2 separate regions of the Homo sapiens genome follow, and region 2 is linked to region 1. The links are contacts of gene promoters, found by promoter capture Hi-C in blood cells and fetal thymus (Javierre and others, 2016). All regions are on one chromosome and are shown on one strand. The core of a region is centred on a gene start or on the middle of the fragment in contact, and the rest is flanking DNA. Distances in the headings are between cores, read along the strand shown. Region 1 holds the start of TRIM21 (tripartite motif containing 21). Region 2 holds the start of OR52M1 (olfactory receptor family 52 subfamily M member 1).

Evidence for each region. The method cuts DNA at HindIII sites, captures the fragments that hold promoters and counts their contacts. A CHiCAGO score of 5 or more calls a contact.
Region 2: a contact is called between the fragment with the promoter of OR52M1 here and the fragment with the promoter of TRIM21 in region 1, in 3 of 17 cell types (M2 macrophages, M0 macrophages and monocytes). The highest score is 8.8, in M2 macrophages.

Annotation. Positions count from the first base shown.
Region 1 is chr11:4,392,313-4,395,012 of GRCh38, forward strand. TRIM21 (tripartite motif containing 21) reads right to left here and starts at 1,390. Exons shown (of 7, transcript NM_003141.4): 1 at 1,321-1,390. RefSeq lists enhancers at 1,281-1,490, 1,511-1,570. The HindIII fragment of the contact is 6,932 bases long and covers 1-2,700 here.
Region 2 is chr11:4,543,849-4,546,548 of GRCh38, forward strand. OR52M1 (olfactory receptor family 52 subfamily M member 1) reads left to right here and starts at 1,343. Exons shown (of 1, transcript NM_001004137.1): 1 at 1,343-2,296. The coding sequence starts at 1,343. The coding sequence ends at 2,296. The HindIII fragment of the contact is 8,356 bases long and covers 881-2,700 here.

The DNA.
Region 1 (2,700 bases), core at 140-2,639:
TCCCAGCACTTTGGGAGGCCGAGGTGGGTGGATCACCTTAGGTCAGGAGTTCAAGACCAGCCTGACCAATATGGTAAAACCCTGTCTCTACTAAAAATACAAAAATTAGCTGGGAGTGGTGGTGGGCACCTGTAATCCCAGCTACTTGGGAGGCTGAGGCAGGAGAATTGCTTGAACCTGGGAGGCAGAGGTTGCAGTGAGCCAAGATTGTGCCATTGCACTCCAGCCTGGGTGACACGGCGAGACTCCCTCTCAAAAACAAAACAAAACAAAACAAGGCATAAAATTAATGGCAAAACAATTAATGTCAAAAACAGTAATTACTTTTGCACCGATCAAACAGTTTGTTGAATAAGTTTATTCCTGTTCTGAATAACAAGAACTCCTCCATTGTTTGGTCCATTGATCCAGTGAGACAGAAGGAGAAACTGAGTCCCTAAAAGAGGGAATGAAAATTGGCAAGAACCTCATAAAGCTGTTGACAGTTCTACTCTCATCATGTCCATTCCTGCTTAAACCCTCAGTGCTCATCCATCTCCTGTCGGGTACCAACAGGCCTCCATGTTGCTGAGAAATTATAGCTACTTTTTACCATGTACCTTCCATGTGCCAGAGATACTTCATGCTTTGAATATATCTTCATTAATCCCTCCTATAACGGCGGAAGTCAGTTGCATATATGTATGTAGGTGTATATGTATGTATACACACAGAGTAACAGGAACCGTGGCCAGCACTCCCTGGGCTCTTTTCTCAGCTGCTCCAAACTTAGTTTAGTTCCTGACAACACTTATTCTAGGACAAAGAATAATTCTGAAGGCCTATACATTTCTGGTTGAACATCCTAAACAGCCTGCCCCTCTCACCTCTGGAGGACTTTTGGACCTGGGAGTCTCCAGAATTGCAGACCTCCCCGACACTGGGCTCCCTACCCTCCTGGCTAGGCTGTAGTCCTGGCTATCCCAGCCACACCCAGCCGTCATCCTAGGTCAGGTGCCAGCATGGGGGCAGCCGGGCCCCTTCCCCTTCTGGGTAACTCCACAGTCACGTCCACAACCCAGCCTCCTCCCAGGTAGGGGGCAGCCGGGCCCCTTCCCCTTCTGGGTAACTCGGCAGTCAGGTCCACACCCCAGCCTCCTCCCAAGCAGGGGGCCAGCACCGGAAGCGCAGCTGGTCTTGGGTTGAGGGATCCCTGGTGGGAGAAGGGGCAAATGGGACCGGCTCAAGGATGGAGACTGGAAGGGGCTCTGCAACCCTGGGGCAGGGGAGAGAGGTCCCCTAGGAGGGCAGGGGTCCCTTGATCTAGTGGGGTTCACTCACCTTTACAGGGGACTCAACGCTGGTAGCCAGCTCCCTATTTCACTTTCAGTTTCCGCTCAGAAGCAAGTCTGAGAGGAAAGGGGAGGGAGGAGGAGGAGCCGTGGGAGGAGTGAGGGAGGAGCAGTGGGAGGAGCAGAGCCTTGAAAGGGTGTGTGGAGAAATGCGGCTGAGAAGAGAAGTCAGAGTTGAGCTGGGGGAGGCTTCAGAGGCTCTGCATGCCCAGGAGGCTTCTCTGAGACTGGGAAGGAGTGGAAACTCAGTAGCCCGTGGTCCTGGTTGCGCGCTCCCTCCCATGTCTTCATTATCTGATTTGGTAAAATATCTACAAGACGGGGGAGTCCGGGCTGCTTTCTTTGACACTGGTCATCACTCCACACCTAGACGCTATGTCCATGTCTGGAAGATGCTTTTAAGGAAGTTTTGATGCAGAGAAGAGTGGCCGGTGCTCTTCCTCGCGTGCCACCATCTGCTTACTTCCAGAAGCTAATTATTTTCATGTGACTGATGTGACTAATATTTTTTAACGCCTGCAGGTGAGTGATTTATTTCGCATGACCCCAAGGTGAGTGTCCCACCAGTGAGTGGTGAGAAGGAAATTGACATTTGACAACCAACTGTGTTCTTGTCACTGAGCTAGGGACATTCTCAGGTTATATTATTTTTATTTTTAATCGTAAAAATATAGAACATAAAATTTACCAAAGTAATTTTTTTAATTTTCAATCTTGTGTGTCTATAGTAGGTGTATATATTTGTGGGGTACATGAAATATTTTGATACAGGTAGAGCATACAATCCGTAATAATCATATCAGGGTAAGTGGGGTATCTATCCATCACCTCAAGCACTTATCATTTGTGTTATATACAATCCAGTTATATGCTTTTAGTTATTTTAAAATGATAAATTATCATTGACTGTATTCACCTTGTTATGCTATAAAATACTAGATCTTATTCATTCTCTCTCATGTATTTTTGAACCCATTAATCATTCCCCACTACCCTTCCCAGCCTTTGGTAACCATCATCCTCTCTATCTTCATGAGTTGGATTGTTTTAATTTTTAACTCCCACAAATAAGTGAGAACATAACAATTTGTTTGTTTGCCTGTGTTTGGTTTATTTTACTTAACATAATAATCCCCAATTCCATCCATCTTGTAGCAAATGAAAGGTTCTCCTTCTTTTTATGGCTGAATAGTGCTCCATTGTGTATGTGTACCACACTTTCCTTATCCATTTATCTGTTGATGGACACTTACGTTGCTTCCAAATCTTGGCTATTGTGAATAGTGCTGCGATAAACATGGGAGTGCAGATATCTCTTTGATATACTGATTTCCTTTCTCTTGGATATATACCTAACAGTATTTCTTCT
Region 2 (2,700 bases), core at 93-2,592, 150 kb after region 1:
GAGCCCAGCTTATGGAGAGGTTTTATGGGATAATGTCAGACTTACAGCAGTCACCCTCCCAAGCACCACAGCTTCCTGGAGATAGACATTCCAGAGTCTTTTGAAGTTTGAACATTTTTGGCTTTGCATGTTAGTCTCAACAGAATAAAGAACTAATGCTTAGTGTTACTGTCAGGCCCTGCATTTTCATTTAGTCATGACAACTTCTCTAGGCCATGGCTTTAAGTTTGTTGCAAAGTGTAGTTAGTTGTATTTCACTAATGGGATAAAGCAGTTCACCTAAGCTCTCACTGCCAAGATCTGAAGACAGATCTAGAAAAGTCCTAAGCCCAGATTGCTGACTATTCTGTAATCAACCTAACTAGGCTTAAGATGTACTGCATTAAACTTCTTACACGCTCCTCACCTTTCGTATTCCTCTGATATATAAGGAACACATTCTGGTATAGTCTTTTAGACAAAGATTTAAAAAAAAAAAATCAGACAACACATTGTTTTCATGTATTTGCTTTAAATTGACATCTTTTTAGTGAGTTGCTCTGGACTTCAAGTAAGGGTGTTTCATGGCCAAACATTTGTCTTAGGCTTCATGCTACTCTGCACTGAATGTCTTCTTCCTCCCTGCTGATAACCCTCTGTTTCTGGAGCCTTTTCTTCATATTCAGTCTTCATGAAGGGAGGAGGCCCTTGCCAGGCTTTGCCTTTGGGTATCAAATACGCATAAACTGAGCTTTGGTCAGCTTTCATCTTTCAGAAATCACTTTGTTTCTATACCCTCTGGAAGGTGTCATCTTTACCACCCCAAGTCTCTGCCTTGTGATTTTGGCCTGCAAATTAGACATTTCAGCTCATCCAGTAGTCAATTCTGGTCCCAGGCTTAAGCTTTGGTTTACCATAGAGCCTAGATAGTCCCAGGTGTCTCTGACCCTCTGACACTTCAGTGCATCTCCTTTTCTTTCAAGTAGCTGTACACTCTAAAACCTTCCAACATGATCTCAAGCACCACCTCATAGCCTACCTGCAGTGGTAAATGACCAGATAGTTATTTGCTTTAGGTCAGTTCATTCACTGATGCAAGAATATCACTCCTCGAAGGTCATACTGCAAAAAGATGTATTTCATTCAAATGAGTGTTTTGGCTTGTACTTTCTAAGATTTTGCGAACATTTTAGTATAATGTGACACTGACGTTCTAGAATTTCTTCTAAAGATGACTTATCTAACATCTAGTCAGTGACCCTATTATTATAGGAACTTAGAGTAAAATATTGTCTTTTATTTCCAGGAAAAACATCCTGCTGCGTTTAGTGGTACAAGTGAGAAGGTTCACATATAAATAGCCATGCTCACTTTTCATAATGTCTGCTCAGTACCCAGCTCCTTCTGGCTCACTGGCATCCCAGGGCTGGAGTCCCTACACGTCTGGCTCTCCATCCCCTTTGGCTCCATGTACCTGGTGGCTGTGGTGGGGAATGTGACCATCCTGGCTGTGGTAAAGATAGAACGCAGCCTGCACCAGCCCATGTACTTTTTCTTGTGCATGTTGGCTGCCATTGACCTGGTTCTGTCTACTTCCACTATACCCAAACTTCTGGGAATCTTCTGGTTCGGTGCTTGTGACATTGGCCTGGACGCCTGCTTGGGCCAAATGTTCCTTATCCACTGCTTTGCCACTGTTGAGTCAGGCATCTTCCTTGCCATGGCTTTTGATCGCTACGTGGCCATCTGCAACCCACTACGTCATAGCATGGTGCTCACTTATACAGTGGTGGGTCGTTTGGGGCTTGTTTCTCTCCTCCGGGGTGTTCTCTACATTGGACCTCTGCCTCTGATGATCCGCCTGCGGCTGCCCCTTTATAAAACCCATGTTATCTCCCACTCCTACTGTGAGCACATGGCTGTAGTTGCCTTGACATGTGGCGACAGCAGGGTCAATAATGTCTATGGGCTGAGCATCGGCTTTCTGGTGTTGATCCTGGACTCAGTGGCTATTGCTGCATCCTATGTGATGATTTTCAGGGCCGTGATGGGGTTAGCCACTCCTGAGGCTAGGCTTAAAACCCTGGGGACATGCGCTTCTCACCTCTGTGCCATCCTGATCTTTTATGTTCCCATTGCTGTTTCTTCCCTGATTCACCGATTTGGTCAGTGTGTGCCTCCTCCAGTCCACACTCTGCTGGCCAACTTCTATCTCCTCATTCCTCCAATCCTCAATCCCATTGTCTATGCTGTTCGCACCAAGCAGATCCGAGAGAGCCTTCTCCAAATACCAAGGATAGAAATGAAGATTAGATGATTACTATTTTCTTCTCTCTCAAATAAGCTCATGGAGAAGGTGTTTAAATATGGTAGGCTGCTTCCCATTAGGAACTTTACAAGCAGTTTGAAGTATTAGGCACTGTGCTCTCCAACTTTTGTAGTTCCAAAGGAATTCTAAGAAAGTATACAACTCTAAGTCCTAAAAGGTGGAAAATACAAAACTTACAACTAAAGGATATTTGAGCTACAAAGAAGGTAAACCAACCGTGATAACGACAAGCTGCTAATATTTAGCATTGTTCATGTAATTCTTGAAAATATCCTGACATGAGGTATTATTGTTTATATTTTATGAGGAAATAGGACAGAACACCCTTGCTTTATGAACTACATACAGTTACTTAAGCTGCCTAGCTCCACATTTGGTTGGAATTTGTAATA